3 separate regions of the Homo sapiens genome follow, and all the other regions are linked to region 1. The links are contacts of gene promoters, found by promoter capture Hi-C in blood cells and fetal thymus (Javierre and others, 2016). All regions are on one chromosome and are shown on one strand. The core of a region is centred on a gene start or on the middle of the fragment in contact, and the rest is flanking DNA. Distances in the headings are between cores, read along the strand shown.

Evidence for each region. The method cuts DNA at HindIII sites, captures the fragments that hold promoters and counts their contacts. A CHiCAGO score of 5 or more calls a contact.
Region 2: the fragment with the promoter of OS9 here is called in contact with the fragment with the promoter of AVIL in region 1 in 1 of 17 cell types (neutrophils); the score reaches 5.1 in neutrophils.
Region 3: a fragment that was not itself captured here is called in contact with the fragment with the promoter of AVIL in region 1 in 2 of 17 cell types (M0 macrophages and M2 macrophages); the score reaches 5.7 in M0 macrophages.

Annotation. Positions count from the first base shown.
Region 1 is chr12:57,817,042-57,820,351 of GRCh38, forward strand. AVIL (advillin) reads right to left here and starts at 1,693. Exons shown (of 20, transcript NM_006576.4): 1 at 1,588-1,693. It overlaps CTDSP2 (CTD small phosphatase 2), which reads right to left. Exons shown (of 8, transcript NM_005730.4): 8 at 2,886-3,310. The HindIII fragment of the contact is 1,940 bases long and covers 1-1,815 here.
Region 2 is chr12:57,692,457-57,695,766 of GRCh38, forward strand. OS9 (OS9 endoplasmic reticulum lectin) reads left to right here and starts at 1,676. Exons shown (of 15, transcript NM_006812.4): 1 at 1,676-1,867; 2 at 2,294-2,470. The coding sequence starts at 1,706. RefSeq lists enhancers at 1,305-1,879, 1,867-1,916. The HindIII fragment of the contact is 11,057 bases long and covers 1-3,310 here.
Region 3 is chr12:57,732,625-57,735,934 of GRCh38, forward strand. It overlaps AGAP2 (ArfGAP with GTPase domain, ankyrin repeat and PH domain 2), which reads right to left. Exons shown (of 19, transcript NM_001122772.3): 2 at 2,745-2,803; 3 at 1,968-2,055; 4 at 1,695-1,780; 5 at 1,402-1,549; 6 at 221-355. Among named protein-coding and RNA genes, the nearest start is that of AGAP2, 4.5 kb to the right of the region's middle. RefSeq lists an enhancer at 1,006-2,205. The HindIII fragment of the contact is 5,376 bases long and covers 1-3,310 here.

The sequences.
Region 1 (3,310 bases), core at 443-2,942:
CTGTATTCAAGGAGCATCTTGGGTAATTAAGCACCTACCCATGTCCAAGGCCACGTAGAGGCTTTATAGAATTAAAATACCTGCTCTCAAGGAGCTTGAAATCTGATAACATGCATAATTAATGTAAAGCTAGATTAATTTCTCCCAAGAGGCAAAGGAAAAAGGATGGGGTTGATGGATTTATGTAAGATTTAAAAATTCACCCAGAAAGGACTGTATGCATTTTTGCTGTTTGGGGACATACTGTTTGTTAAGAGGAACATGTCTGACCATTGTTTTCTTGAACCTTGATGGACAAAGCCAAGTTTGGAGAGCATGCGCCATCTAGTATGGACTTTGGCAAAAAACCATAAAGCTCAAAGCAGACTCGCTTTGTCTACTGCTGTAGCAGGACTAAAGCAAGGCAATGGTGCGGAGCAGCCAGTGTTTGAGAATTTAATTTGATAACTTGTGCTGCCCCACCCTGTGCTGCTCAGAATTGCCAGGAAATATGGTGTTTGGGTTTTCTTCAGACCCTACGTAGCAGTCATTAAAGGCAAAAGCCATGAGCCAACTAGGGGAAGGGGACAAGGGCCACTGAATTCATTCCTTGGAGACAGAGAACTGTCACCCTGGTAAAAGCCAAACCAGCCGGCAGCAATTAGGACTGTGAGCCTCAGAGGCTGAAACCTGTCCCGTTTCCCAGCAGGAATTTAGGAATCAAGGAGCTCCCTGGGCCAGGCACCCCGAATGCGAGAGGATAAGCTCCAGGAAGGGACTTCCTGTCACACTGGAACACACAGAAAACACAGTTCTGACATCAAATCTCCCAAAGCTGGGTCTCTCCTTCTCCCTAAATCCTAATTCAGTATCCTTTGAGAGGACTGCAGAAACCCCTTGGGTGTGGGGCACAGTTTTGAAATGTCAGGTTAAAAGCCAGTGGCCTGTAATTCTCAGAGATGCCCTTTTGGACGGACCCTGAGCAGAGGAAGCTGTTTTTTGTTGTTGTTGTTTTTGAGACAGGGTCTTGCTCTGTCACCCAGGCTGGAGTGCAGTGGTACAATCACGGCTCACTGCAACCGCCACCTCCTGGGCTCAAGTGATCCTTCTGCCTCAGCCTCCTGAGAAGCTGAGACCACAGGTGTGCACCACCATGCTTGGCTTTTTTTTTTTTTTTTTTTTTTTTTTTTTTTGTAGAGACAGGGTCTCACTATGTTGCCCAGGATGGTCACAAGTTACAAACTCCTGGGCTCAAACAATCCTCATGCCCTGGCTTCCCAAAGTGTTGGGATTACAGGTGTAAGCCACCTCTCTGGGCCAGGAAGCTGGTTTTAACTCCTCCTGCCTTGCTCCATACCATCTTTCTCTAGGGATAGGTGAAAGGGGTCTGTCTTTCCCAGCTTTTGAAAATGTGCCCTATATGTTCAGCTGCCTCTAAGGGGTTCTTCTGAACAAGAAGTTTGCAAAACTGGCCAGCCAGACTCCTGGTTCATTTTAAAAGCCTCATCTCAGAAGACAAAGCCAAGGGACTCTCAAGCTCCTCTTCCTTTCATTTCTTCCTCATTCAGGAGGATTAACTGGCATGCCCCCGTAAATCAGAGACCTTACCTTGCCTTCTCGCTCACCAGCCTTCCCAGTTTCCCGGCGCGTAAGCAGCAGCAGTATTGAAGAACCACTCCAAAGCAGGAGGCTCCAGGTCCTGCTGCCTTAGCTTAGTAATGGCCGCAGAGATACTGGGTTATATTTGCTTGTGTTTGCATCTTAACCGCATTTTCCTAGTCCTGGCCAATCAGAGCCAACCTAGCACTGAGCTTGGCTTATTCAAACCAGAGGGAAAGCTTTATCTGTGCCTATTCAAAACAGCAAAACAGAAGAGCAGACTTTTAAAGGCTTCTTTGAACTCCAGCTCCACGCCCTGATCTAATTGATTTTTTAAAAAGTGCACACAGCCCATCAATAATGCAGGAAAGAGGTTGGAAGGATATGAAATTTGCCATATTGTAGATATGGATGCATTATGGTGATGACAGGAGGAAGAGGCTGGAGCTGCCCCATGAGTGCCTGTGATGTCTAGGTTGGCAAGAGCCTCCCTAAGAAGCTTCTGGCATTTCTCAAAGGGAGGGGAAGTCTGGGAGAGGAGCCAGAATTTTATTAGGCCACAGTTTTGCTCGTTGGGGTCTCTACTAGTCATACAGTAAACCAATCAATATTTGAGTGCCTGCTGTTTGCCAGGAACCATGCTGGGCTCTCAGCTTCAGGGTTTCCAGTTTGGAAGAATCAGTGAGGGGCAGAGAAGAATCAAGACTCCATTCCCAGGGCTGGGTGTGGTGGTGGCTCACGCCTGTAATCCCAGCACTTTGGGAGGCTGAGGTGGGTGGATCACAATGTGAGGAGTTTGAAAACAGCCTGGCCAAGATGGTGAAACCCCATCTCTACTAAAAATACAAAAATGAGCCGGGCGTGCTGGCAGGCGCCTGTAATCCCAGCTACTCAGGAGACTGAGGCAGGAGAATCGCTTGAACCTGGGAGGTGGAGGTTGCAGTGAGCTGAGATCATGCCACTGCCTCTAGCCTGGGCAACAGAGCAAGACTCCATTTCAAAAAAAAAAAAAAAAATAATAATCCATTCCCTTAGGGCTTCTGGTTCATGCCCAGAAGTCAATAGGACATCAAGCATATACACGTGCTAAGCACCTGACTGCAATGGGGTTGATCACAGCAGAACTTGTGTAACCTTGAGCGGAAGCCCTGTGTGGCATCTGCAGCTGGCCTCCCGGTGGGTGCAACACCCCACTCAGCCCGGGGGTGCAGCTGCTTCATGATGGAAGGGGTTGCGAGAAGAAAGGCGGTGCTTGCCATGGGCCCAGTGAACACTTAAGGGCCAATGAAGGTTGGTGGCAGCTCACATTCCTGGAAAGGTTTTTTAAACCCACTTTTATTAATTAATTGTAAGTAATACAAATATTCCAAAAATATAAACAGACACTTAATGGCGTCCTGCATTTCAAGTTTTTGAATACAACAAATTTATCAAACCATGAATCTGTAAGCAAGGTAGTCAGAATCCCATAGCCCAGTCACAGTGGGAAGCAGATCCCCTACCCTCCAAATGGCATCTTGAAGGGGGAAAGCGGCACGAAATGGAACATGATAAGCAAAAAAGCTCACGAGGCCCAAAGAGGAGGGTCCGCTCCATGGGCAGGCCCTACAACGTTAAAAGAATGGGGCAGCTGGCCCGACCTCTGGCCTCCTCTTCCCTGGCTGAATGTAAATATTTACCAGCATTTAGAAAAAAGGAGAAAAAAGACAGAACTAAACCCGTTTAGGAAAAA
Region 2 (3,310 bases), core at 426-2,925, 120 kb before region 1:
TTTCTGTAACATGGTTTTAGTTTCCAAGAGCTCTTTTTGCTTATCCGAATAGTAGTTACTCTCAAGTAGTTTCCTGTTGTTATTTTATGAATGCTCTATAATATCTCTTTGAGAAGTCTGATGATGGATTATTTTTAAATGCTTTGTTGTTTCAGACGGAGTCTAGCTCTGTGGCCCAGGCTGGAATGCAGTGCCGCAATCTCAGCTCACTGCAACTTCCGCCTCCCAGGTTCAATCAATTCTTCTGCCTCAGCCTCCTGAGTAGCTGGAACTATAGGCGCGTGCCACCATGCCCAGCTAATTTTCGTATTTTTAGTAGATACGGGGTTTCACCACGTTAGCCAGGCTGGTCTTGAGCTCCTGACCTCAAGTGATCCGCCCGTCTCGGACTCCCACAGTTTTGGGATTACAGGCGTAAGCCACCGTGCCCGGCCTATTTTTAAATTTTTTATTTTTAGTGTTTTTTCCCCTCCCTTGCAATTTATGTTTCCTCTCATTTGCTTTTCCCTTCTTGTTTGTTTCTTACTTGTATATTAAAGTCCTTCCTTAAATGTCTAATGATCTCTGGCTATTTATTTTGAAGAGTAAGAACACTAAAAAGCTGATTGGAAAGTGGAATGAGGGCTGGGGCACGTAGGCCAAAGTGTTACATGTGGAATTCATTCTAGTTATCTATATCATTAAGAGAACTCTGATAAGGGTATCTTTGGGATTTTTCGTTTTGGCTGGTGAGATTCCCCAGAGAGGGTTTTCCAAAGGTATAATCAGCCTCTTGTTTACCTTTGTTTCGTAATAAATATTCTCAAGTTTGCTAAACCAGTTAACATTCTTCTGTTTGATTTCCAGCTTCCAAAATGTTGCTGTTGTTGTCTCCTTTCCCTTTCTTACGGCCTGGAGAGTAATACATAATTTCACCTTAACTGGAAGCCCATGTATGCATGTATGTATGTATGTATGTATGTATGTATGTATGTATGTATGTACGTACTTATTTGAGACGGGGTTTCGCTGTGTTGCGCAGGCTGCACTTGAACTCCTGGGCTCAGGAGATCCTCCTGCCTCAGCCTCCGGAGTAGCTGATACCACAGGTGCGTGCCACCACGTCTGGCTGCCCGCATTATTTCTCTAGGATTTTTACTGGAGGTCATTTTACTGGAGGTCAACTGCAGGATCGTATAGGAAGGTTTTGACACAAATTTTCTGATTGCCTCAAAGCAATATGTATATATGAAAAGAGGTAAGCGTCCGTATAATAATTGTTTGTTTTGCAACAAGCATTTAATAACTTTCACCGGCACTGCGCACGCTACCTATCTGCCTCAATACTCCGCCCGGCGGTGGGCAGGATATAATGCAAGAGACGTCTGAAAAAGCAATGAGATGCGCATGACAGCTGGGCGAAGACAGAGGGCAAACTTAAAAGGACCAAGCGCATAGACCACGCCTCTGAAATTGGGGAACGAGGAGGGGTTTGATCTTGTCGATGATTGGCTGGTCTCTGACCAATCACGGACAGCGATTGATATTTCTAATCGTCGTGATCCACCTCCCCAGGACCTTGGAGCCACGTTTACAAATAGGAATAGGGTACGTGGGAGGGATAGAACGTACAGCCAATAAAATCATGTGGCGCCGATGGGCGTGTTGAGGCCGCTGCCTGGCTTAGGGCGGAAACAGATTCTCTGCATAAGAAGGGGAACGAAAGATGGCGGCGGAAACGCTGCTGTCCAGTTTGTTAGGACTGCTGCTTCTGGGACTCCTGTTACCCGCAAGTCTGACCGGCGGTGTCGGGAGCCTGAACCTGGAGGAGCTGAGTGAGATGCGTTATGGGATCGAGATCCTGCCGTTGCCTGTCATGGGAGGGCAGGTGAGAGGCGTATAAGGGGCGAGGGTCTGGGCAGAAGAGGAAGCGGGTAAGAGATAGAGGAAGAAGGGCAGCTCCGGAGTCTGGGGCTGGAGCCTACGGGGAATCGGGAAGAGTAGGTATTGCTTTTACGGTGACCCCTGGGGGTCGCAGACTGAGACCAATTCTCTGGGGGCCAGGAATTGGGAGAGGTGGGGCTTCCCGCTGTCAACCTTCAGGTCTCAGTTTATGATCGAAACACCCGGACTCCGCCCCCGTGGAGAAATGGGAGCGCCCTCTCCTCTCACCCACTAAATACAGCTGGAGGGCTTATGGCTTATTCTGTCTTCGACTGATCTCTTCCCCAGGGTTTGAAGAGGGATTTCGTTGTTCTCCCTGATCCCAGCCTTTCTTTGCTTCCTTGCCCCCCGACCCTCCCTTCTTTCCCAGAGCCAATCTTCGGACGTGGTGATTGTCTCCTCTAAGTACAAACAGCGCTATGAGTGTCGCCTGCCAGCTGGAGCTATTCACTTCCAGCGTGAAAGGGAGGAGGAAACACCTGCTTACCAAGGGCCTGGGATCCCTGAGTTGTTGAGCCCAATGAGAGATGCTCCCTGCTTGCTGAAGGTGAAAGGGACTGGGTTAGATAGAATGAGGGCTTGGAAACTAGCAGTTCATCCAAGAACTGGAGTCCACTGAATGAGGCAGGATCTAGGGGACCTGTAGTGGTTAAGAAGACCACTGGAGGAGTAGACAGATTACACGGACAGGAAAGAAGCAAAGAATCCTGCAACCACTGATGACACTTTGCTGAACGTAGGAGCAGGTTAGGATAGAAGATCTCAGAAAAGGGCTAAAGCAAGATTGAGGGTCTGCGTGGGGTAGGAGGAGTACTTCCTTAAGCCTACTTGCTAAAGTCACCCCCTGCCCTATCACTCTGCTCCAGTATCCTGTTTTATTTTCATCGTAGCACTTTTCATGATCTGAAATCATATTTACTGAATCAGTTTGTTTATTTTCGGTCTGATTCCCCGCATTAGAGTGTAAACTCCATGAGGTCAAAGAATTAATCTTGTTCACAGTTGTATTCCCAGTGGCCAGAACAGTGCCAGGAATGTTCAAGAAGTTCAATTAATATTTAATTTTGGGTTCTTCTATGTTTCCCTAATATAATTGCTTCAGGGATACCATAATTTCTTATCTTTATGGAGGGCAAATAAGGATTTAAAAAATCTTTTAAAAGGGAGGAATGGAAAGACCACAAGTGGAAAACAGACTTTAGAGATATCTCTCCAAGTCACAGAAGGAAAGCAGCCCTCCCTCCTTACTGAAAGTCTGGAGAATTGAGAGTGGAAGTGAAGGGAAGAGAATTGAGTGTGTAAGTAGATGAGAGGTTATGTGTCTTGGAGCCAGGAGACTCTGGTTCCAAGAAAAGATGTCTGCACTCCATCCCCCTGATTGTTTATT
Region 3 (3,310 bases), core at 423-2,922, 84 kb before region 1:
ACTGTGGCCTCCATGCCACCTGTGGCCTTGCCAGCTCCTCCAGCCCAGAAAGACCTTGCGACTATTAAGCAAACCTTCTCTGGCCTCCCTGATCTCTCCTCCCTCCCACAAAGGCTAATTTCCTGTCACTCACAGAGAGAGGCCTGGATGCCTGACCACTGAGAATATCCCAGGCCCCTTGCTCTGGCTTCCCACATATGCTGGAGATCACTACACTCACCCTCCTGGAAGACCCGATCCACATTGAGCCCATAGGTTGCACAAGTCTCATAGTAGCTGCAGCGTTTCATGTCCGCGCACAGAGCTCTGGCACGAGCATCTCCCACCACCCGAGGGGAGGAAGCACTGATCCTGTCTGAGGGGACAGGAAAGGGGCAGGATTGAACAAGGAGCCCCACCTTGTTCGATTTTTCACAATTCCCTTATCCTTGCACTGGGCCCTCAGGCTGGGTCCACTGGGGATGGGGTGTGAGAGATCATCTTTTCTGTGACCAGGTGGAATGGGAGTACATAAGCCCTTTCTGAGTACTGGGCCCAGTTCACACACCTAGCTGGGTGAGCTGTGTGTGTGTGTGTGTGTGTGTGTGTGTCCTCAAGGAATACTCCAGAGCTGCTGAGTGGTGCTTCCTGACAAGGTCTACATAGCTGAGACCCAGGCGCGAGCGACAATCACCCTGCCCTGCAAATCCATAGAACCCTGAACTGGTGGGAGGACACCAGCTTGTGAACTAGGAAAAGGTTGGGTGCCCATGGGTCATGGCTGGACTGCCCACTCTGCAGCAAGAAACCAGGATGCAAGCAACAGGTGGAGATAGGCACCAGCAGAACAGGCATCCAGACCAAGTCCCACCAGCTCGACACAGGGGAGTGCTGGAAAAGCATTTCCTGGCCCTGGCAGAGTCTGGGAGCCTCTGAGTCACTTCTCTGAGAACTAAAAGGTTTTCTGCTCTCTTCTTTTCATCATCATTTCCTTTGTGTTTTCACTTTGTTTTTGGATAAGTTCCTTTAAAAGGTGTCAGCCTTACCCAGCTGTCGCAAAAAGGAAGATGGAAAAGGTTTCCTATCCACCCTAGGACTTGAGATTTTCTGTGTCCTAGGATGGTGGCACTAGGAAATGGCAGTGTCAGAACACAAGGTAGGTGACATTTCAGGAGAGGCAAGGAGATGGCTACTATAGCTGTCCTTTCCTCCCTGGAGATCCCCTTTTCTCTGCTCAGACCTTGGGAAGTTATTGTTTGGTTTCATGACTCCCTTATTTGGAGACCAGGCTCCCTCCAGAAGGGTACTATAATCCAAGTGGCCATTTCCACACCTTACCAAGTTCTCACCCATGTTGGGCAATATCCCAGTAGCCTCCTTAGGGCCTCCCTTGAAAGCAGTGCTTTCCTAACCCCTCCTTACCTTGTGTCCCCACCAGTGCCAAGGCCAGGCCTCCTCGTCCCTCCCCGCGAAGGGAACTCAGCTGCCCATGGAGACGGCTCACAGCCTGGAAACTGTTCTCATCCTCCAGGCTGAAGACGAAGATCACAGCATCTGCCCAGCCTGAGAACTTGCGGGGAGTGAGGGAGCAAATGGAAAGTCAGACAGGTCTACTCCTCTGGACCCAATCCAGATGAAGACCTGGGAAACCAGAGCCCTCTCCTTTGGCCAGTGCTGACCCCAGCCAGCCTGTCCCCCACCACCTCCACCCTCACCTTGGCATCAGGTGCCCCAGCTTCCTCTCGGATTAGCACCAGATGTGTCTGTCCATCCACCAACATTTCTTTCTTGTACTGCTCACCTGTCCAGAAGAGTTGGAAGGGGTAACAGGTCAGAGGTGACAGGTCACCAAACCTCCCCATGCTCCCAGTGCTTTTGCTATTATGGCCTCATCCTTCCCCCCTGGTCTCCACACCTGCCTAATCATTGATCTCACTCCTGGATCCCTGACCCCAATGGTTAGCTTACTATGGCTCTTCAGAACTCACTCTCTGTCTTCTCCAGCACCTGGTATGAGCCAGTCAGGAATCGGTGGATGAGCGATGACTTCCCACTCCTGGCATCGCCCAGCACACCCTGAGGGCAAGGTTGTGGAGCAGAAATTGTGGGATATAAGAGAAGGCAGGATGCATGGGTCTGGACACTCCAGAAAACCCAGAGAGATAAGTCATCCAAGCAGGACCCTACAGGGCCTGGATGACAGTCATTCCAGAGAGAGCAGTTGGGAGGATCAGAGCAGCTGGGGGGATCAGAGCAGTTGGGAGGATCAGGGCATGAGTGTGGTAAGAAATGATCCCAAGCTCAAAGTGGAGCACGAGCTGAAGAATGTCAGCAATTCAGTACCAGCTTTTTTGTGTGTTGGGTTGTTTAGAAAACATACTAGATATGTTGTGTGTGTGTGTCTCTGTGTGTGTGTGTTTGTAGCATGTCACAGCTCTAGGCACTAGTTGGAAAACTTTACCCAATTCTAGGCAGTACAACATGAAGGCCAAAGGGCAGATACCAGAAATGAGAAGCCTGGAGGAGGACCATGAACAAACAGGAAAAAGGGGATGGCTGCATAAAGACTAGATAGGAAAAACTTGTGAGGAGGCTGTAGCAAACCCCATGTTGGTGCTATGAAGGCAGACTCTCAGGAGAACTGGAAAACGATTCCCTATTCCCAAAGAGAGAGAGAGAGAGAAGGAGAGGTGAAGGGAGAGAGCTGAGAGTGCAGTGGGTGGGAGGTCAGCCTTCCCTATAGGCAAGGGGACTGGGTTACCTACCAGGCGCAGTTCAGGAATGGAGCGGCTCAAAGTCCATTCCTGGCTATTGATCACAGCCTCTGTAACGGGAGAAGGGCAGTAAGAGGGGAGGCTCCTGGCTCAGAAGGACCCCCAACACTGAGCCACCCCTCCTCCCTCTGCAGCTTTCCAACCCCCCCCCAACCCTGCCTGCACTGGAGAGGTGTGTGCAACAGACAGGTTTGAGGGTGGTCCCCAGGCCTCCCATCCCAGCCACTCTCCCCCAGCTGTTGCTGCCGCTCAGTGGTTGCTTAGCAACGGAGCTAGCAAGACAAAAATACTTCAGTTGGCATCTCCCTTAAAGCACATCCCCAAACGCGGGTCCTGGCCCCAGACAGGGAGACCAGGGCTCTGACAGTGGCAGGTTCTTCCCTCTGGAAAAAGAATAGAAGAGGAGCTCCTCCCTAACCCACTGGTTCCCAGGGCAGACCCTGGGAGGAGGTGCTGAAACACAGAAGAGAGTGTGTCTTCCCCAACCTCCATTCCACAGGAGAGAAACTGAGGTGAGGGGTTTCCCTCCCCTTCTTCAAGGTCAACGGCACTGTAGC